Linked DNA regions of Homo sapiens: regions 1, 2 and 3 are each linked to region 4. Evidence: promoter capture Hi-C in 16 types of primary human blood cells and fetal thymus (Javierre and others, 2016). All regions are on one chromosome and are shown on one strand. Each heading gives the region's core, a stretch centred on a gene start or on the middle of the fragment in contact. The rest is flanking DNA. Distances are from core to core; before and after follow the strand shown.

Region 1 (5,293 bases), core at 1,809-4,308, 360 kb after region 4:
GAGGGGCTGCACAGCAGGACTCAGACGTGCCTGCCTGGGCAGGCGGATCAGCATGATGTCATCATTGTGGTCATTGGCGCTGAGGTCCTTGTTGAAGCCAGGGTGGGGGAAGAAGTCCGTAACCCGGAACAGCTGCTCCGGACCCTCCCATTTCCAGAGGTGGTGCTCTCCAAGGCGGACCCACAGATACCTGCTGGGACAGGCCTCAGAGGTCAAGCTGGGGGAAAGGTAAAAGTCCTTTCAGCCCCAGCCCTCTTTTCCTGTCCATCAGGGTGCTGTGTGACCCTCTGCAAGCCACACACCCTCTCTGCACCCTCATCATCTATGTCTGGCCCAGGGTACTGTGATTTTAAGCGAGGCACACACCTCCTCTGGGTCCCTGGTCCCCACTCTGATGTTTTGTGTGTCTCCATCTTTGTAGCTCTCCCCACAAAGCCCCCGCTCCTAGTCCCAGGCTGAGTGAGCCACCTTCCTCCCTACTCACCTGGAGCCTTGGTGGTGACTTGGGTCCCTAGGAACGGTGTGGGCACGGGGGACCCCACCTACCACATAACAACCGCCCCACCCCTGCCCCCACAGGTCTGGTGGCTTCTGTGGGAGCGGCTCTGTATGTCTAAGTGGTGTGTGTGTATACGTGTGCGTGTGTATGAAAGGGGATGGGATATGGAAAATCCCCAAATTGGGGGTCATCTCTGGCCTCAGCTTTTCCTGTCTATCATATCCTTCACCCTTCAATGCATGTCTTCCTGGTGTCTAACCTTAAGCCCTCACCACAGTCTCAGCGCACTTGTTTCATTTCTGGTCCATGCCCTAGACAGCTGGGATCCTTTCGGGGATGACAAGTCCATTCCCCAGCCTCTGACCTCTGACATTAGGCAGCAGGCTAATGACTGCGAATTCAGGGTTGGGGAACCAGAAACATCTGTGTCTGTCTCTCTCTGTCATTCTTGCTGTCTTGGCTCTGGATCTGGAAAAGTAGTCCTCACCCCTACATCCCTTCATCCCCCTACCCTTCCCCTGCCTCTCACTCTCTTCCACCTTCATATCTCTGCATTTCTCCTGCTTCACTTTCGGCTGAAATCTGAACATCGTTCTCCCAGTCTGATGTATAGGCTTAAGTTAAAGGAGGTTCCATCATGGAGCAATGCATGATGGGAAATTCCCACACAGCATCTCTTACCACAATCAGTGCTTTACTCATGGAGGGAAGAAAATTGGAACAGTATGGATGGTCACTTTTCAGAGGCAATGGAGAGAGGATTCCTGCATCAGGTGGATTCCAGGATACTATTAGAATGCCCAGAACCTAAGATTCTAGAATTCTCAGATTCCGACACACTATTATCCATGATTCTAGAATCTAGAGGCTCAAGGTTTAGAGTTTTATGAATCCAAGATTCTAACATTCCAGATTCCCCTGGATCAAAAAAACTCCAGGATTCTAACATTATCTGAATTAAATCTAAGATTTGAACATAGAATTTTAATGTTCTAGGACAAAAAGACTAGAATTTTGGCTGGGCGCGGTGGCTCACGCCTGTAATCCCAGCACTTTGGGAGGCCGAGGCGGGCAGATCACAAGGTCAGGAGTTCAAGACCAGCCTGGCCAATATGGTGAAACCCCCGTCTCTACTAAAAAAAAAAAAAAAAAAAAAATAGCCTGGCATGGTGGTGCATACCTGTAATCCCAGCTACTCAGGAGGCTGAGGCAGGAGAATTGCTTGAACCCGAGAGGCAGAGGTTGCAGTGAGCTGAGATTGTGCCACTGCACTCCAGCCTGGGAGATAGAGGGAGACTCTGTCTCAAAAAAAAAAAAAAAAAAAAAAAAGAAAGACTAGAATGTCATCATTCTATAAATCTATAACCTTAGAAATTTAAGAGTCTGGGATTCAAATAGTTTAAGACTACAGAATTATCTGAATCTCAATATTCTAGGATACTGTGAATCAAAGATTCTAGTACTGTGAGTTTCAATATTCAATGAATCTAGAAAGCTCTGAATTTAAGATTCTAGGATCACACTAGCCATTATGGCTATTGAACACTTGAAATGTGGCTAGTCCATTTTGTAACAGGCTATGTGTGTAAAATACAGAACAGATTTCAAAGGCTTAGTACCAAAACAAAAGTAAACTGTATCGTTCATACGTATTTAAAAATTGATTACATGTCAAAATAAGTTTTTGGGTATGTCAAGTTAAATCTATTAGAATTAATTTTACTCATTCCTTATTTTTTAAATGTGTCCACCAGAAATTTAAACTTACACATGTGGCTGGCATCATAATTCCTCTGGGCAGTGCTGACCCAGACTGCTAAGATTCTAATAGTCTGCGAATCTATGATTCTAAAATTTGCTGAGGCTATTGCAGAATTTCATAAATTCAAGATTTTAGGATTCTACGATTCTGGATTTCTCTGGGTCAGTCTCGGATTCGAAGAGCCTAAGTTTCGAATCTTAGACTTCTCAAATGAGATATTGCTGGTCTCTAGAATTTTAGGATTTGGGAGGCTACCCTTCCTACTTCTAAGAGTTGAACTTGTGGTATCAGAAGTGGAGGCTCCGCACTTCTGGCCTAAAGCACCCCTCACCCTCTCCTGACCCCCAGCCTCTGTCCCTCCCCAGCATGGCCAGCCTGGGTCACTCACGGCTTGCGGCAGTGGGCAGCTGTGAGCAGCCAGCGGTCACTGATGAGGGTCGCCCCACAGAAGAGCCGAGTAAGGTGGAAGAGGCCGGCCTGCCAAGGCTGGGAGTTGGGGCGACATTCCTCGGCCCCGATGGCACGGGTGTCTGCCCAGCCATGCCCTGGGGTGGGGATGAGGGACAAAGGGGTCAGCGAAGAGCAGGCTGGGAGGGCAGGGAGAGGATGCTGAGAAGCCTAGAGGGCAGGAGGCAGAAGCCTGGGATGGGAGGGAAGAGCAAGGTGACCTTAGTACAGCCGTGAAGGGGCAGCCAGCCTGGGAGCCTCACCTGCCAGCAGAGAGAGCAGAGCACAGAGGAGTCCCAGCTTCATGACCCCTGGGCACCTGGATCCTGGAACGTGCACCCGGCGTCCAGTGCTTCTTTATGGTAAGCCATGCCATCTCCTTCCTCCTCCATGGGGCCGCCCCTGTGATTAATCGGGGTTGGGAAATGTACCTGGGGGAGGGGGAAGCCCTGGGGCTGTGACAGGGGCCTTGGGAGAGGAGGTAAGTGCAGGGGGACCCCCCTTTTGGGATGAACTGGCGGCTTGCTGGGCCAGAGCTTGACTGAATGGAGGAGGAGTGCTGGGGGTGTGGAGAGGTTGTGGGCACCTCCTCTGGGGTCTTCAGAGTGGGAGACCTCATTCCTCATCACCTTAGGCTACAAGATACAGAATCTTTTGTGTCCTGGAAAAGGAGGGAGATCCTTGAAGCCTAAGGTCCTGGGGTGCAGCAGGTTTATTTTGGATAAAGCAGTGGTGTGCAGAGACCAACCTCCCACGGCAGGCTGGAGGGATGTGCAGGGGGACCACCCAGAAAGGAGGCGAGGGGTGGAAGACAGAGTCAGGACTCAGACACAAGAGCAAAAGATACAAAGAGAGGGAGGTACAGGCACAGAAGGACCCAAGATGAGAGGAGGAGTGGGAGGAGGAGACAGAACACGGGAAAGATTGAGGGAAATCCAGGTGGAGTGAGGCAGAGACCACAGGCAGCTGCACAGGTTTACACACCTTGCAGAACCTTCCCTGCCCTGGGGATTTGGGCCTCTTCCCACAAGGACAAGGCCCTCTCCTAGAATGTTGAGAAATCTGGTTCCATCTGGATTAACCCACTCTTGTCATAACCTGCCCCCTTCCCCACGGCTCCACCACCCAAGGACCCAGGTGCCCAACCTTCCAGGTAGCAAGTGCCCTGTGCTCTCTCTTAATACATCCTGATCTTTGCCAAATCCTGAGAACATTTGCTATATATTTTTTTCATCCATCTCCCTGCCCCCCACCCCATTGTCCCTTCCATCACCCCATCCTCCCTGCCTCTCTCCTCATCATTCCTTCTCACCAGGTGGACAGCTTCTGGAGGGCTGGGCCCAGGTCTGACTCATCTCTGTGTCCCAGCATCACCCCGTTCCAGGCGGAACAGGGCTTGCAGAAGTCCTCAGGAGATGTTCATTGAATGAGTGAATGTCTTTCTCCATATCCTTCTTTTCCTGGTGAACTCCCACTCATCCTTCAACACCCAACCTCAATTCTCCCTCCTCCAGGAAATCTCTGAGATCCTCAGGCAGAGTCCATCTTTGCCTCCCCTGGGCACTTACGATCCCTTCCACTTTCTCCTGCTCACAGGCCTGGTTATGAAGCTGGGTCTGGGCTCCCCTTGAATGTTCTCTCACTGTGTCGTCATGGTTTGGAGCATGGACTCTGGAACTGAACCATGTGTGTCCAAATCTCAATGATTAGGTGTGATTAGTGATGAGGTGTGTGACTTTGGGCAAGTCACAAGACCTCTCTCAGTTGCTCCATCTGTTTTTTGTTTGTTTGTTTGTTTGTTTGTTTTCCAAAACGGAGTATTGCTCTGACACCCAGGCTGAAGTACAGTGGCGCGATCTCAGCTCACTGCAACCTCTGCCTCCTGGGTTCAAGCAATTCTCCTGCCTCGACCTCCCAAGTAGCTGGGACTAAAGGCGTGCGCCAAGACACCTGGCTAATTTCTGTACTTTTAGTAGAGACGGGGTTTCACCATGTTGGCCAGTCTGGTCTCCAACTCTTGACTTCGTGATCCGCCTGCCTCAGCCTCCCAAAGTGCTGGGATTACAGGCGTGAGCCACCGCACCTGGCCTGCTCCATCTGTTAAGTAGCAGTAATAACGAGGGTCGTTGGGGGGATTAAGCAAATTTACACACATGAAGCACAACAGTGTCTGACACATGGTAAATGTTCAATGTCTCTTCATCCCCTGCAGAAACCTGTGGTGCCTTTATCATAGCTCATTTCACCCTTGCCTGCAGTTGTCTCACTCCCTTTCCAGACAGGGAAGTCCTTGAGATCAGGGACTGGGTATCCACTATGTGCTAAGTGCCACCTTAACTGCTATTAAGAGCATTTTAGACCAAGCGCGGTGGCTCACGCCTGTAATCTCAGCACTTTGGGGGACCGAGGTGGGTGGATCACTTGAGGTCAGGAGTTCAAGACCAGCCTGGCCAACATGGTGAAACTCTGACTCTATTAAAAACACAAAAATTAGCCAGGCATGGTGGCGGGCGGCCTGTAATCCCAGCTACTCGGGAGGCTGAGGCAGGAGAATTGCTTGAACCCGGGAGGCAGAGGTTGCAGTG
Region 2 (5,537 bases), core at 1,798-4,297, 420 kb after region 4:
ACTAGCTACATGTGGCTATTTAAATTTAAACTAATTAAAATGAAGTAAAACTAAATTAAAAATTCAGTTCTTAAGTCACACCAGCCATATTTCAAATGTTCAATAGCCTGAAGGGGCTAGTGGATAATTGGACAGCACAGATATAGGATATTTCATATATACATATATGGAATATTCTACTGGATGACCCTCAGAATTTAGAGGTTGTATGTCTGGGTCCTTCTTAATTCTGAGAGGTCAGCTCAAATGTCTCCTCTTCAGAAAGGCCTTCCCTGACCACCTGGTCTAATGTTGACTCTCCTGGTCCCGACTCCTCCCCCATTACATTCTTCCAGTTGGTCTTCATCAGAACAATGATTGCTATTCATTTCTCTTCACATTTGTATGTATTCGTTTTTAAAAATCTCTCCACTTTGACTGTAAGCTCCATTGACAACAGGCACCTTAACTGCTTTATTCAGTACCATATTCCCAGGACCTAACACAGCGCCTGGCACACAATGGGGGCTCAATAAATAAATGCTGTGTGTGCCAGGCACTGTGTCTGGCATTGAAAGCACAGCAGGGGTCCGTGGGACAGGGAGAATCCAATCCTGAACATGCATGCCATTTTGTGACTGTGTGACCTTATGCAAATCACCAGCCTCAGTTTCCCCAGCTGTCAAGTAGAAAAAGTAATAGTTCATCTCTCATTGCGCAGTTGAAGAATTCAAGATGATCCTGCATTTCAAACCGTGCAGCACAGCAGGTGGCATGGAGAGCACTCAGTCAGTGGGAAATGTTATTATTAATTATTAGCTACAACAGGAGGTCCCTCTGCCTCCCTAGCTAGTTTCCCCAACTACAGGGCAAGCAGTTGGATTAGCTCAGTGGTTTGCAGTTAGGGACAGAAGTTGTCGGTGAGCACAGGATCATTTTAGATGGTAGAGAGATGAGATTTAAGTAACGTTAAATCGCACACTCAGACGCTGAACCAGCATCCAGTTCTCTTTTAAACCTGATTTTGTCAAGGATAAAGTCTCAGGATGGTGCTAATATGGTTTTAACACCTCCCTAATCCTCACTGAGCTCACTTTTCAAAGCCAGGAGGACACAGAAGCCTCATCAGGCCACCTAACATTTATTACACTGAACCATCTGCAAAAGTTGTTTTAGGAAGGTCAAAAAGGGTCAAGTATCAGCAATTTCAGGTGGTCCAACCCAATAAACATATTATTTTCTTTTCATTGTGCAGGATTTATTTCCTTCCTTACCTTCTATTTATGACAAAGAATTCTATTCTCTATTCAGGACAGTAATATAAAGTTGAACATGCTTTTGTTTGAGTGAAAAAAGAAGAAAAAAAGCTAACTTTAAGCAAATGATTAGGTCAAAAGTTATAAAAATGGTTTTCAGAGCCTCAAGTCCAGGATATGGACAGGGAAAACAACCTTGATTAGGATTCTGACTCAGGCATCGCCGGTGTCATTGGAGCAGGAGCCTTCTGTCTTTGAGTCCTAGGTTTCTCTGCCATGAAATTGGAGTAATTACAATGCACCTACCTCGCCAGGTTGTTGAGGACTCCACAAGGCGTAGCGTGTGGGTCTCCTAGCCTAGGGTGTGGCACTCAGGAGTGGCACGGGCATGAATCCAGGGAGTGTCGCCAGAGGAGAAAAGCCACCCCACCTTCAGGCCAAGGATGGTGCCAGGTGCCAGGCACCCACAGATCCCTCCTTTTTCAGGTCTTGGCTCAAGGGTCAAGCCCTTTGGGAAGGCCTCTGGTCGGGAAGCCGCCATTACATCTCTAGGCCCCTGGCTTGGCTCCTTGAAGTCTTCACCTCATGTCAAGATAATTATTAACTAATTATTTGGATAATTGTTTGAATAACATCTGCGTCTGTCCCCGCTAGACTCCAGGTGCTGAGAGCAGGGACTGTGTCTCTGCTTGTACAGCACCCAGCACAGTGGCCGGTGTTTAATAGCTGTTTGTTGAATGAATAAATGATTCATGAACGGGGTTTCCAGAGAACCTGCCTACAACGGCAGGGAAAGATGGGAAAGATCCATAAGGATCTTAAGGACTACCAATTTGGGGTGAGGTCACATAGGTTTGGGGTCAACCCAAGGATTAAAATAACAATCTAGAAGGTTCTGGAAGGGGCTGAGTATGAAGACAGAATACTAGAGGCCGGGCTCGGTGGCTCATGCCTGTAATCCTGGCACTTTGGGAGGCTGACGCGGGCTACTTGAAGTTAGAAGTTCGAGACCAGCCTAACCAACATGGCGAAACCCCGTCTCTGCTGAAAATACAAAAATTAGTTGGGCGTGGTGGCGGGCGCCTGTAATCCCAGCTACTCGGGAGGCTGAGGCAGGAGAATCGCTTCAACCCGGGAGGCGGAGGTTTCAGTAAGCCAAGATCGTGCCACTGCCTTCCAGCCTGGGAGACAGAGCAAGGTTCCATCTCAAAAAAAAAAAAAAAAAAAAAAAGGAATACTACTAATAAAGTAATAACGGCTAAGTGGCTAACTTTCAAGTCCCTTCTACCTGCGACATACTGAAGGCTCGACGCATTACCTCGTTTCAATATTCACAGTGACCTTCTCTGGTAAGCACTTATAGATTAAGCCCATTTTCCAGATGAAAACAATTTAGGCACAAAGCAGCTGCTAGGCTACTGGCTCAAAGCGGCAGCGTCAGGACGCGAACCCATGTCTTTCAGCTTTCCAGAGAGGACAGGAAGCCTTGAACGCGGGAGGGGCTGCTGCGAGGGTATTTTGGGAGGTGAAGGGTCTGGGGTCGGAGGGCCAACCTCAGCCGGGAAACCAGGTCACCCAGGGACAAGCAGGAAGAGCTCTGAGCTGTCCCCACTGGACCCGGCCCCGAGTGGGCGGGGGGCGGAGCTCGCGGCTCCCACGCCCCCTCCCCCTCCGGCCTGACCCCTCCTACCATTGTCCCGAATGGCCGCCGCGCCTCCACCCCCGCGCATTCTTACCTCCTGACAAGGCCAAGGTCAGGGAGGCGATCACTAGGGCCAGGGGCCACATGGCTCCGGGATCGGGAGGGGAGGGCAGGGCGGGCGGGGCCTGAGGAGAAGGTGAAGGGGGTGTTGAGGGCGTGCCCGGAACCTCCGCGTCTGAAACCTCTCTGCTCCTGAATGTCTCCTCGCCTCATTCACTCTTGACAGCCCTGACCCTGGAATCTGCCCCCCGCCTCCAATTCCATCCTTGGTGGGGGTGCAGTGGCGAGGTGGGAGGAACAGTGTGCAACCTCCTGGGGCTCCGGCGTGCAGCCCCTCACCCCAGGAAGCCGTCCCTCCTCCCCTGCCCTCTGGCGAGCTGGGTGGTCGGTGCACTCTCGCCCTTTTCCTCCAGAGTCTGCCTTCCATTCTACCCCTCTGGGTCTGTCCACACGCTTGGTATTAGCCCAAGTTCTTATCTGTCCGCGCCCTTCGCCTCTCTCCGTCTCTGCAGGTTTCTCTCTAGATCTGAGACTCTAGCTTCACTCTCCCTCTCCCTGACTCAGCTGCCCTTCTGCTTTCCCCATCCTTCCTATCCCCTCTTCTCTCCCCTCCCTGCCCTCCTCCGCTCCCCGCCCCCGCCCCAGGCAGACCCTACCTGAGTGAGGGGCCCACGAGGAGCGTCAGCCGCCAGCTGTCTAGAACTTCAGCCCCGAACCATGGCTTTTAACCCCTGAACTCCCTCCCCCAGCTCACTCAGCATTTCCTGGTCCCTGGCCTCCCCCTCTCCACCCCCAGTGGCTCAGCGGGATGTCTCCAGGCACCCCCGACCTGGGCTTGGCCCTCTGCTTGGGGCGGAGCTTCCAGGACGTGCTGGGACCTAGGTCTGACCCCGCCCAAGGCAGAGTTGAACCCACTGTGAACTTTCAGGCCTCAGGACCCAAAAAAGGGTAAGGGGAAAGCCCATTTCCTTCCCCCTACCCCGCTGAGTTCCATGCCCATCCCTAACTTCAACCCATTCTGCACCCAGTTTTCTAACCTCTTCTCCAACCCCATGCATAATTCTTAATAGGCAGTCAGCCCCCAGATGGCCGTGTTCTATCAGATTCCCACCTCCCTATCCATCCCTAACCATACCAAGTACTCCAGCCTGTTCCTCAACCCCAGTCCCATCTCCAACCTCATCTCAGGTTTAGCTCTCAACACATCCAGGTTCCAATTCCCAGTCTCATCTCAACCCTTTTTCTTTTGAAAGACACAAGGACACCCACAATTATCCCATCATCCTGCCTCCCTGCTCCCGCCAACCACCGGACACAAGAAGGAAATCATCAGCTGGGTGGATAGAAAATCAGCTCCCTCGGACTTGGATGGGGGCAGAGATGCGACCTGAGAAAGCAACATTTTCCAGAAATGGCCTTTTAGGAGCAGGGCCAGAGGGGGTGAGGGAGTCCACGGGGACCTAGGTGGAGAGGAAAAAGCAGGAGCCGGAAAGCTTTGAAGACGTGGATTGGGGGTGGGGGAGAGGAAGGAGGAAGGGGTGGTGTTTTGAGAATGAGTAGGTGTCTCCAGGAACTATGACTGGGTGGAGCCCTGAGTTAATCCTAGGGGGTGGAGGGGACAGGATTAGGGATTAAGGACTGAGGTGGGGTCAGAATTTGGAAGAAAGCCAGGGACGTGGACCAGATGAAGTTTGGAAAGAGTGAGAGAGTGGAGGTGTCACAATGAGGATAAAGAATAGAGATGGATGGGGCGAGGGCTCACATGGAAACTTGTACAGTCCTTATTGATGGAGTTCAGATTTGGATGTGGAGATCAAATCTAGTGTCAAAGGGTAACTTTTAAAACATGGTCTTACCATGACTCTCTGACATATATGAAATGAACATGTGTCAAAGATTGTATCTTGACTCATTAATAAATGGCAGAGCCAGTAAGATGTTACAAAGAGCCATATGCACAGAGACAACGAGGAATGCTGAAATGAATTTACAAATAGATGCAAAACTGGCTATTCCACACTGGGAGGAGGAGGGAAATCCATTGTACTTCCACCTGGCAAAATTCATGTAAACATTTATGGACAAGAATTATTTGCATTGCTCTCAGATACCTACAATTTAGAGTCATAAAGTGGCTCAAAGACAGGAAAGGGTACAGAGACCTCATAAAATCAGATAACCCATCTAACTTTGCATTGGCGACACCTCAGTGTCCAATGTTGGGTCCATTTCAAAGTATTTTGCTAAGAAGAAAAATATGGCTTAATATAGGAAATCAGTAGAGTCTATGGTTAAGGATGGGCCTGATGACAACATTAGGAATGCAATGAGTTTGGGGAGGTGAATGAAAATTGGATGAGGATGGGTATAGAGTTGGAGGTGGTAGTTGAGCTGGTTTTGGGATAGGATTAGATTGTAAGATGGGAGGTATCTAGGGATAAGTTGGTGTTGGGGTACTGTTGGGTTGGGGCTGAAGATGGAACCAAGATTGAGGTTTTGGATGGGGAAATGTTAAGATGTGGTTGAGCTGGGGTAGTGGGTTGACATGGGTGATGAGGACTGGCCATGAGGTTGAGTGTCTATGATGCAGTAGGTTTTGG
Region 3 (5,691 bases), core at 1,353-3,852, 260 kb after region 4:
CTCAAGACTGTGCAGGCCCAGCCCGATGGTGTAGGAGCTGTGGGCCACGGAGGGCAGGTCAGTTTTGTGGCAACTACATCCTTACCTCCATTCTCATCTTCAACCCCATTCCCATCCCCATCTCCTAACCCCAACCCCACCCTCTTCGCTAAACACCCTAAGAGCTACTTAACCATGGTCTCAAATCCTCATTCACAAAAATTCAGGGACAAGAACTTGCCTTAGTTCACTAGAGACTCAGCACTGGGCTGAGATTTCAAGTCAGGACTCTCTGAGTCCTTCCGAAGCAAGATTCCCGCCTCCCAGCCCTTCCCTCTGGGGCTCCCCGGATCCAGGCTCATTCCGTCCTCCTCCCAGAGCCTTCACCGCTGTTTCCCCCTGAGCACCCCAAGATGAGCCTGATATTAGGCCCCGCCCCCGGACCCAGGCCCTGCCCACTCCCCCTACCTCTGCACTCACTTCTGGAAACAGTGTGCGGCTGACAGCACCCACTGCGGATGCACCAGGACGCCCGAGCAGAACAATTCGTTTTCCATGACCAGTGCCGCCTGCCAGGGCTGCGAGTGCGGGCTGCAGTCCTCGCCGTTTATGATTTGGCTGCAGCTACCAGAGACGAGCGATCCTGAGGGCGGAGTCAGGGATGGGATCGGGACCAGGAGGCGGGCCCAGGGTTCCTGGGGGTGGGCTTACCGAGCAGGGGCGTGGTCAGAGGTTCAGGAGCAGTCAGGGCTCCTCGGGGCGGAGTCAGGGCTGGGAACGGGCTCAGGAGGCGGGCCCAGGGCTCTTGGGGGAGGGGTTACCGAGCAGGGGCGTGGTCAGGGCTTCAGGAGCAGTCAGGACTCTTGGGGGGCCGAGTCAGGGCTGGGGGCGGGCCCAGGGGGCGGACCCAGGGCTCCTGGGGGTGGGGTTATGGTGCAGGGGTCATGATCGGAGCTTCAGGGGCTGGTCCAGGATATAGGCCTAGGGCTCCCAGGGGCGGTGATCACGGTGCAGGAGCCTGGTCAGGGATTCAGGGTAGTCAGGGCTCCTGGGAGGAGAGTCAGGGCATGGGGGTGGGCTGAGAAGGCGGGATCAGTGCTCCTAGGGTTGGGGTTACAGCGCAGGGGCGCCATCAAGGCTTCAAGAGCTGGGTTATGGCTAGAGGCAGTCTCAGAAGGTGGGACCAGGGCTTCTGGGGCGGAGTCAGGGCTCTGGGGTGAGCTCTGGAGGTGAGACTGGTGCCATCGCGGTGCAAAGCCACGGTCAGGAGGGGTTCAACAGAGGAGTCTAGGCTCATAGCAGTAGGATCGGGTCCTTCGGGGTGAATTAAAGCTCAGGGGGTGGAGTTGTTGCTGGGAGCAAGGATCGGGTCACTTGTCTGCGCAGACTGATGCTCAAAGAGTCGGTCCTGCGCCGAGTCACTCCTATCCTCTCCCAGCCTTGCCCACAGTCACACCAAGCCACAAGCCCATGCACACCAAAACACCGTTTTATAGTCCTGTGAGGTGAGTTCCTTGGGGATGGGAGAGGGGGATCTCAGGACTGAAGACCCAGGAAGCAGGCACAGATTCCCAGCAATGGATCACGCCCCAGGAAGCACAATCTCCTGCACCCTCGGCTTCCCCTGTCCCCATATCATCATTACACTGTTGTCACTCCACCAGATATTCAGAGGCACAAACTGTCAGAGTCTCACAGGTACAACCACACACCCAGGCACACTGCCACACACAAATTTACCACGATACAAGGAGTTGCAGGGGCACAGCCATGGGGGACGGATAACACGGTACCGTCTCACAGGCAGCTTTGCAGTCACAAGCAAGAGGACACTGAGTCACACCTGAACATTAACAAACACTGTGCCCCCAAGCACGGACAGACACACACACGCATACTCAGATACCTGCGACACCAAGGATGAGGTACCCCAGGAACCAGCCCCAGGGATTTCCTGCTGTGGCCATCACGTCAGCACCTGGGGATGAGGACTGAGACTTAGCCGTGTCTGGGGATCTTCAGCCCAAGTCTCTCCATCCCTCTCTTTGTCCCTCCCTTTCTTCCCTCTGGGACGTTATTAGGTAGGCAAGAGCCTAGACCATCTACCCCCTCTCCCATCCATGGACCCAGAACCTAGAGAGACAGATTTAGAGACTGAGAGAGAAAAAGAGAGAGAGAGATGGGAAAAGAGAGAGAGAGAGAGAACTAGGTAGAAAGGAAAGTTTAGAGAAAGCATCTAGCCATCTGTGAATGGGGAGAGATGGTGTCTAGCCACCCACAAACAAGCATGGAGGGAAGACACACAGAGAATCAGAGCCGGAGAGACAGAGTGCTTGAGAGATATCCTCAGAGACAGTCTGAGAGTTAGACATGGAGATATAGATTCAGAGAGACAGAGAGACCCCTAACTAGAGACAGTGACTCCTAACTAGAGACAGTGAGAGATCTGTCTAGAGAGATGTGGAGACAGAAGGCACAGAGGCTGAGAATCCAGCGACATGGAGCTGTAGGGAGAGTTGGATCATGAACACTGCAGGCTTTTAGTGGGGGACCACCAGGCCTCTTACCCGGCCACCTCTGGGCTCCTGGATTCCACTGCTGGGCTGAGCTCCAGCCTGCTGCCTCCCGCAGGGGCCTCCTTGGGGCTTATAAGCATCCTCAGCCTGGGCTGGCCTGCCCCCAGGGGATGTGTTCCAGGGGTCAGGTGCTGCAAACTTCCAGCTCAACTCTCTCAGGCTGCCTCAACTCTGACCAGGCAGTGGTTGGGGGCCCAGAAGGGGCTGGCAGCAGGGTCTAGGGACCCAGGGAGGAGACCCCTGCCCAGATCCTAGACTCCACTCTCCTTTTTCTTTCTCTCTCTCTCTCTCATTCTTTCTCTTTTCATGTTCTTATTCTCTCTCATGAGATACCTCTCTCTTGCCTGTATCTCTCATTTTCTCTTTCTCTTCTTCTTTCTTTCTCTCATTCTCTCTCTCATTATTTTTCTCGTGTTTTCTTTCATTTCCTCTCATTCTCTCCTGTTCTCTCTCATGTTCTTTCTCTTTTTAAATTAAATCTCTCTCTCTCTCTCCCCTCCTCCTTCATCCCTCTCTTTCTGTGCTTCTCCAGCAAATTTCCCCAGGTTCGTATCCAGCCTACATCACGAACTATTTTTGGAACCTTGGGCAAGTGACTGCACCCCTGTGAGCCTGTTTTTCCAACTGTAAAACTGGAGTGACCATTATGCCCCATTTCCCAAGTGGATTCAAAGAGGTAATTCAGGGAAAGGCACACAGTGCCAGGCACATTGTAGGCTCTCGGTGAGCGGGAGAACTAAAAAGTCTTCGCTCAGTGAAAAGCAGCTGAGTGCCTACCACACTCCGAGCTCTGCGGCAGGTGCTGGGGCCACAGGAGGAACCAGCAAAGTCCTCGTCACTGGGGATCGCGTCCTACCCGGGGGCACAGACCATAAAGGAAAACTGCAGGGACCAGCATATAAGGTGGTGGTCGGGGAGACTCAGAGAAGGGGAACATTTAAGCTGAGATCCCAGGGAAGAGGAGGAGGAGGGTCGCCGCAGCAGGGGCGGTTGCGGGGTGCAGGGGAGAACTTGGCTCCAGCCAGAGGAGGGCAGGGCGGGTAGGAGGGCAGGGCGGGTAGGAGCGCAGACCGGGAACCGGGCGGGCCTGCAGGAGTTTACGTACCAGGATTAAGGAGCTTGGGTTTTACTTAAGTGCAATGGATTTTAAGCACGAGGATGGAGTGACATAATCTTATTTACTTTTTAAAAACTTCCAGCTTGGAGAGTGATGGTGGGGGCGGGGCGGGGGGCAGTGGCAACAGCCCAGGTGGGAGGTGACGGGGTCAAGGGAGAAGAGAGGTGAATGGACACGGGGTCCCCTCTGCATGTGGAGCCAAGTTACTGCCCGATGGATGGAAAGTGGGGGGCCAGGAGCAGAGGGGCCAAGGATGGCGTGGAGGCTTGGTCTGCTGGCTTGCGCTCTACGGATCTTGTGGAGACGCATAGGTGCGGGAAGGGGGGTGGGGGGTGAGAGGGTGCCGTAGACCGCGGAGGGTGCACGGAGGGGCAGGCCGAGGTCAGGACTGCCGAGAAACAGCGGGGACTCATCAGGGGAGAGGTGGTGTTTACAGCCACGAGGCCGGGTGAGATCATCCAAGGAGTGGGTGGGTGTAGACCGCGGAGCCGGCGCGGGTGAGGGATAGTGCCCGCAGGTGACCGCGACGAGGCAGGAATGTCTCTGTGTCTCTCTGTCTCTCCTGGGTCTCTAACACTCTTTCCTTCTCCTTCCTTACTTCTTTCCCCCACAGCCCACCCCGTGTGTCTGTCTCTCTTTCTCTCTGGCTCTCTTTTCCTCTGCCTCTCTGGTCCCATCTCTGTCTCTCTCCCCCTTGTCTCTGTTTCTCTCACCTGCCAGACTGGAAGCATCCCAAGTGAGACCCTCCCCCAACTCTGTCCTGGGCCCGTGCGCCCCCAGATAACTCTGGGCAGGACGGGACATAGGCTGGGACCACAGAACAGGAAGCCCTGGCAGGTTTCTGTCTCTGTCTCTCTTTTCCCTGTCCCTGTCCCTTTCTCTCTCTGATCCCTTCTCTCTCGCTCTCCCTCTGACCTCTGTCTGTGACCCTCTGATCTCTGTCTGTCTCTGTCTGCCCCTGTGTGTCTCTCTTTCCTCCTGTCTCTGTCTCACCTTGCCTTCTCTCTCTGTCTGTGTCTCTGCACCTGTGTCTGTCCATCTTTCTCTGTGTCTCTCTCCTCCCATCTCTGTCTCTGTCTGTGGCTCCGCACCTGTCTCTGTCCATCTTTCTCTGTGTCTCTCTCCTCCCATCTCTGTCTCTGTCTCTCTGTCTGTCTCCGCACCTGTCTGTCCATCTTTCTCTGTGTCTCTCTCCTCCCATCTCTGTCTCTGTCTCTCTGTCTGTCTCTGCACCTGTGTCTGTCCATCTTTCTCTGTGTCTCTCTCCTCCCATCTCTGTCTCTGTCTCTCTGTCTGTGTCTCCGCACCTGTGTGTCTGTCCATCTTTCTCTGTGTCTCTCTCTCCTCCCATCTCTGTCTCTGTCTCTCTGTCTGTGTCTCCGCACCTGTGTCTCTGTCCATCTTTCTCTGTGTCTCTCTCTCCTCCCATCTCTGTCTCTGTCTCTCTGTCTGTGGCTTCGCACCTGTCTCTGTCCATCTTTCTCTGTGTCTCTCTCTCCTCCCATCTCTGTCTCTGTCTCTCTGTCTGTGTCTCCGCACCTGTGTGTCTGTCCATCTTTCTCTGTCTCTCTCTCCTCCCATCTCTGTCTCTGTCTCTCTGTCTGTCTCCGCACCTGTCTGTCCATCTTTCTCTGTGTCTCTCTCCTCCCATCTCTGTCTCTGTCTCTCTGTCTGTCTCTGCACCTGTGTCTGTCCATCTTTCTCTGTGTCTCTCTCCTCCCATCTCTGTCTCTGTCTCTCTGTCTGTGTCTCCGCACCTGTGTGTCTGTCCATCTTTCTCTGTGTCTCTCTCCTCCCATCTCTGTCTCTGTCTCTCTGTCTGTGTCTCCGCACCTGTGTCTCTGTCCATCTTTCTCTGTGTCTCTCTCTCTCCTCCCATCTCTGTCTCTGTCTCTCTGTCTGTGGCTTCGCACATGTCTCTGTCCATCTTTCTCTGTGTCTCTCTCTCCTCCCATCTCTGTCTCTGTCTCTCTGTCTGTGTCTCCGCACCTGTGTGTCTGTCCATCTTTCTCTGTGTCT
Region 4 (5,157 bases), core at 67-2,566:
GTTGTCTTTGCTCTCAGGCAAGTTATCTCCCTGCATGGTGATGTGGTAGCACCGAGAGCTCCAACCCTGGCTCTGACCAGCCCCAAAACCACAGGGGAAAAACCCTGTTTTCTAACAGGTCCAGCAAAAGTCCAAAGGTTGACTTTGTAGCCTAGATTGATTCTTAAGCTCGCCACTGAACAAATCACTGAGGAAATCAAGGTGCCACCACCTAGAACGAATACTTAGTAAGCAGGAACAACAGACAGTCCAGAGACCATCTGGATGTGGAGAAAGAGGAAGAGAAAGAGATACAAGTAACAGAGACAAAGACTGCAAGGACAGACAAAACAAATAAGCGAAGGTCCAGCTTCCTCTCCCACAATTCCTGCAGAGAGCTCTGCAGACCCAGAGAAAGGGATGCTGAACAGGCACCTACACGGCTAGACCCCTTCTCTCTAGCACGAGAGGCCCCGTGAGACCCCAGACCCAGAAGTCCAGGCCCCCATCCTCTCCTCCCTCAGACCCAGGAGTCCAGACCCCAGGCCCTCCTCCCTCAGACCCAGGAATCCAGGCCCCCACCCCTCCCCCTCCCTCTGGAGGCACCATGGCAACCAGGCCCCCTGCCCACCATCCCCTCCCCACTAGAGAACCCACTTTCGTTGGAATCTCGCCTGTTTCTAACCAGTTCCTGGCTGGGGCAGGGATGAGCAGAGGGCAAGTGGGAACAGAAAGGGGATGACAGAGGGGAGGGGGCCTCAAGGGGGCAGTGGAGGCAGCTAGGAGAGGATAGAGATGGGGCAAGGAGACTGGTGAGAGGTGGGAAGACAGAGAGAGGGTGACGGGGTTAGGGAGAGGCAGAAAACGATGAAGACAAGGAGGGACGGGGGCCTGGGGAGATGCTGGGGAAACTGATGGAGACTGAAGAGATGGAGCCCAGGAGAGAAGGAGGGAGGAGGAGGGCAGAGAAATCAAGCAAAAGAGTGGTGGAGACGTGGGGACAGAGGGGAGGAGGCAGGGGGGCAGAGAGATGGGGAGAGAATGAGGAAGGGAGGTGGAGAGAGAGGGGTGGGGAAAGGGACTCTAGGAGACAGAGAGAGATAGGAGGAAAAACAGGGAAATGGGAAAGAAGGGATTGGGGCACACAGGGAGTCCCTGAGGTCAGGGGAACCCAGATCTCCACATGGTCTCAGCCTTCCAGTTCCTCTGTAATTCTACCCCGGGGCTTCAAAGAGGAGGTAGAGGAGGCAGCGGTGGGGAGAAGGAGCTGGGGTGGGTGGCCCAGGCAGAGCCTCTCTTGCCACCTTCCTGAGACATCCCTCACCCACCTTCCCAGGATGCAGCCAGAGGTGGAGCCCGTGTGCTTCCCTGCCATGGGCAGCCCCACCATGCACAGGAAGGCAGGTACTGAGCTGTGTCTTTGGGGGAAGGGGTGGACTTCCTCCATCCAGGCAGTGCGTAGTAGCCCGGGCTCACAGTGTGGCCTTAAGCGAGTCACTGGCACTCCAAAGTGAAAGCCATCCCTAGCATTCCTGGATTCACCAGATTCCTGGAGAGCGGCCCCCTTGGACCTCAAACTACATTTCCCATGAGCCTCTGCAGTTCCTTGGCCAATGCCCTGGACTCAGAACTACATTTCCCATGAGCCTCTGGGGCCTAAGCAACACCTCTGAGGCCATTCTTCTCCTAGGTAACCTCACTGTCTTGTCTCCCACCCTGAGCTCAGCATCTTCCCCCAAAGCTGCTCTCCTCCTTCCTGGTTTCCATTTTCAAATGGCCCCACCGCCAACCCAGTCACTGGTGCCATCCTTCCACCTCCCACAATTCCCTCCCACAGCCCATCAGGCCCTATCTTCCTGCCCTCTGACTCTCCCTTCCCCATTCCTTCCTCTCTGTCCCCGCAGCCCTGTCCCAGGTCTCATCCTCTTCCATGTGGACCCTCTCCTCACCTCCTCCCTGGTCCCCAGTTTCTCTCCTCCTACCTATCCCTCCATGGCTCCAGAGAGGTCTCTCTGACTTCCTGCAGTGATCCTGGCTGTCCCTTGCTCATAACACTTCCTAGCTTCCTGTCACCTCTAGGACAGAGACCCAAAGCTCCAGCCTGGCTTTTGAGGCCCTGTGTGGTCTGACCCCTGCTGACAACTTCAGGCTCCTAGCCCAGCACTTCCTGCTAGCACTCTGTGCTGTAGCACAGCTCATGCAGTTACACTCATTCAACATTTATGGAGTAGTATCTCAGTGAGGATGCATGTAACTGCAGGTAATAGAAAACCAAACTCAGGACTGGGTGTGGTGGCTCACGCCTATAATCCCAGCACTTTGGAGGCCGAGGTGAGTGGATCACCTGAGGTCAGGAGTTCAAGGCCAGCCAGCCTGGCCAACATGGTGAAACCCCATCTCTAAAAATACAAAAATTAGCCAGGTGTGGTGCCGGGTGCCTGTAATCCCAGTTACTAGGGAGGCTGAGGCAGGAGAATCGCTTGAACCCAGGAGGCAGAGGCTGCAGCGAGCCAAGATTGTGCCACTGCACTCCAGCCTGGGTGATGGAGGGAGACTCTGTCTCAAAAAACAAAACAAACAAACAAACAAACAAAAACACCCAAAACCAAAACTCACTGCAGCCTTGAGCTCCTGGCTCAAGTGATCCTCCCACCTCAGCCTTCGAGGCCGAACAAATGCCCTGATGGCAAAACAGGCGTTGTTTCTCTGCCTTTAGGTCTCTTTTAGTGCTTTTGAAGGCATCTTTCTTTTGGAGACCCCACAATGCACCATCTCTAGCCTAGACTGAGGCACCCACGTGACATGTAATTTATATGTAGCTCCAGAAAAGTCAAGTGGAGTTGAGTCGACCAGTTGGCTAGTTTTGTTGATCGACGTTTGTTCATTTCGATTTTGCTGTTTTCTTTGCAGCGTTGTGGAACCAATCACATTTTTTAGTTGATCAGGTTGCAAACTTCAGCATAGGCCATTAGAAAGCCCCTGGGTCCCAAGCATTTTGCCTGTAGTGCCTAATGGATGAAACGGCCTGGCTTGTTCTCATGCTGGGAGAGGAGACGTGAAACACGCCATCTCACAGATCATTCATAGCCTCCAATGGCAATAAGCGCTCTTTAGTCTTGGGGCTCAAGGGAATTCTGGGAAGTTCTTGCAGGTGACTCTCTTCTCTTTTGCTCAAAAACCTTGGCCCATGCTAGGCCCTTCATGGGAAACATCCTTCTCTCTGTCACCTCTTTATTTGGTAAATACCTTCTTATTCTTTAGGTCTCACTGTGGACACCTCCTCTAGAGAGCCTTCCCTGATTGCCCCTAGACCGGGAGACTGGGCTTTCCCTCCACCTTGTAACACTTTCATTGAAACACACATTGCCCTTTATCTGAGAGTTCTGAAAGGGCAGAGGTGTGTCTCATTCATCTCTTGGTCCCCAGCATCCTCCAAGGCACACAGGGGCCCTCTGAGATGCCTGTTAAAAAAATTTAACCAGCTACTTGGGAGGCTGAGACAGGAAGATCCCTTAAGCCCAGGAGTTCCTGGCTGCAGTGAGCTATGACTGCACCATGACCCTCCAACCTGGGCAACACAGTGAGACTCTGTCACCAAAGGAAAAAAAAAAAAGCTTGAAATGGTTGCATTTCCTCAATTTTTCAATAAGTACTTATTTTTAAGTTTATGCTTATGTTAATTTAATTACACATATACATTTAAATGTATTAAATACATTTACATATATTAAAATCACTGTTGTAACTAGAAATAGTTCTTATTTCTAATGTCATATTTCATGAGAAACTATTGTATTCACATTTTTTCACATGCATCTTTGATGCTGCTAGAGTTACTTTTTGATTCATTTAACGCTTGTACAAGGCTATTTTTTAAAATTAATTTATTGTGTTGAGACAGGGACTCACTTTGTAACCTAGGCTGGCATGAATTGACACCATTGTAGCTCACTGCAGCCTCAAAATCCTGGGCTCAAGCGATCCTCCTGCCTCAGCCTCCCAAAGTGCCGGGATGATAGGTGTGAACCACCATGCCCGGCCTATAATTATTTTTGAATATCATCTCATACCTAGTACATATTTAAATTTCCCTAATTATCTCAAAATTGTATTTTTTTATAGTTGGCTTGTTTAAATTAGGGCCCAAACAAAGTGCACACATTTCAGGCTTTATTCAATAAATACTAAGGACAACTATAAGCCTGGCACTTTGCTAGATGCTGGGGACGAAAACACAAGTCCCTGCCCTTACGTTGCTCAGAAGACGTAGGGAAGACAGAGTGTAATTAGGGAATCATAGAAATAAAGGTAAAATTGCAATACTATGAGTACAAACATACTGTGCTATGAGGAATGGCATCAGTGGACCCTCAGGGAGACTTGATTAGCCAAATGAGGGGGAAGAGAGATCCACGCAGAGTTACAGCATTGGCCAAGATCCTGCAGCAGGAGGGGTCAGAGAGTCCAAGTCGCAGAAAAACAGCGTTTTTGGACTGCAGCAGGTGAAAAGGACGATTGTGCTTGATCAGGTTTAAGACACTAGCACGGTCTGATCACGTGTGGTCTTATGGTCACTGGAAGGACTTTGGACTTTATTCATCCCACAGACAATGAAAAGTCCTGGGAGGGTTTTGAGGAAGGGGCCATAGGGTCAGGTCTACATGTCAAAATCCTGCCTTGCTGGGGTAACTGGAGAGCGAGAGGAGTTAGGAGACCAGGTGAGAGTGAGGTGAGAGGAAGGCACCTGGGGAGATTGAGAACACGCACACTGGATCCAGATGCTTACATTTTTATCCTTATTCTATCATTTTGTGCTGTGTGACTTTGGGCAAGTCACTTAACCTCTCTGTGCTTCTGTTTCATCATGTGTTAAACAACACTACCTCGGAAGGTTGTTGTGAGGATGCAATGGAAAGTATTTTATTCTATTCTATTTTATTTTATTTTGGCACTAGAGTCTTGCTTTGTCGCCCAGGATGCAGTGCAGTGGCACGATCCCGGCTCACTGCAATCTCTGCCTCCAGGGTTCAAGCAATTCTCCTGCCTCAGCCTCCGGAGTACCTAAGACTACAGGTGCGCGCTACCATGCCCGCCTAATTTTTTGTATTTTTAGTAGAGATGGGATCTCACCATGTTGGCCAGGCTGGTCTCGAACTCCTGAGCTCAGTCAATCTGCCC

What was found. Contacts are between HindIII fragments. The CHiCAGO score rates a contact against its expected background, and 5 or more counts as called.
Region 1: a contact is called between the fragment with the promoter of KLK9 here and the fragment with the promoter of C19orf81 in region 4, in 2 of 17 cell types (M2 macrophages and M1 macrophages). The highest score is 7.3, in M2 macrophages.
Region 2: a contact is called between the fragment with the promoter of KLK13 here and the fragment with the promoter of C19orf81 in region 4, in 8 of 17 cell types (M1 macrophages, M0 macrophages, naive B cells and 5 more). The highest score is 10.8, in M1 macrophages.
Region 3: a contact is called between the fragment with the promoter of KLK4 here and the fragment with the promoter of C19orf81 in region 4, in 3 of 17 cell types (erythroblasts, total B cells and neutrophils). The highest score is 11.1, in erythroblasts.

The regions. Positions count from the first base shown.
Region 1 is chr19:51,006,534-51,011,826 of GRCh38, forward strand. It overlaps KLK9 (kallikrein related peptidase 9), which reads right to left and starts at 3,059. Exons shown (of 5, transcript NM_012315.2): 1 at 2,972-3,059; 2 at 2,650-2,806; 3 at 1-190. The coding sequence starts at 3,014. RefSeq lists enhancers at 46-545, 2,942-3,442. The HindIII fragment of the contact is 11,592 bases long and covers 1-5,293 here.
Region 2 is chr19:51,062,045-51,067,581 of GRCh38, forward strand. It overlaps KLK13 (kallikrein related peptidase 13), which reads right to left and starts at 3,048. Exons shown (of 5, transcript NM_015596.3): 1 at 2,972-3,048. The coding sequence starts at 3,023. The HindIII fragment of the contact is 5,030 bases long and covers 1-4,428 here.
Region 3 is chr19:50,908,793-50,914,483 of GRCh38, forward strand. KLK4 (kallikrein related peptidase 4) reads right to left here and starts at 2,603. Exons shown (of 6, transcript NM_004917.5): 1 at 2,547-2,603; 2 at 1,886-1,957; 3 at 460-622; 4 at 1-37. The coding sequence starts at 1,946. The HindIII fragment of the contact is 22,926 bases long and covers 1-5,691 here.
Region 4 is chr19:50,648,129-50,653,285 of GRCh38, forward strand. C19orf81 (chromosome 19 open reading frame 81) reads left to right here and starts at 1,317. Exons shown (of 5, transcript NM_001195076.2): 1 at 1,317-1,383. The coding sequence starts at 1,317. It also overlaps a transcript of SYT3 not described here. RefSeq lists an enhancer at 201-250. The HindIII fragment of the contact is 10,880 bases long and covers 1-3,591 here.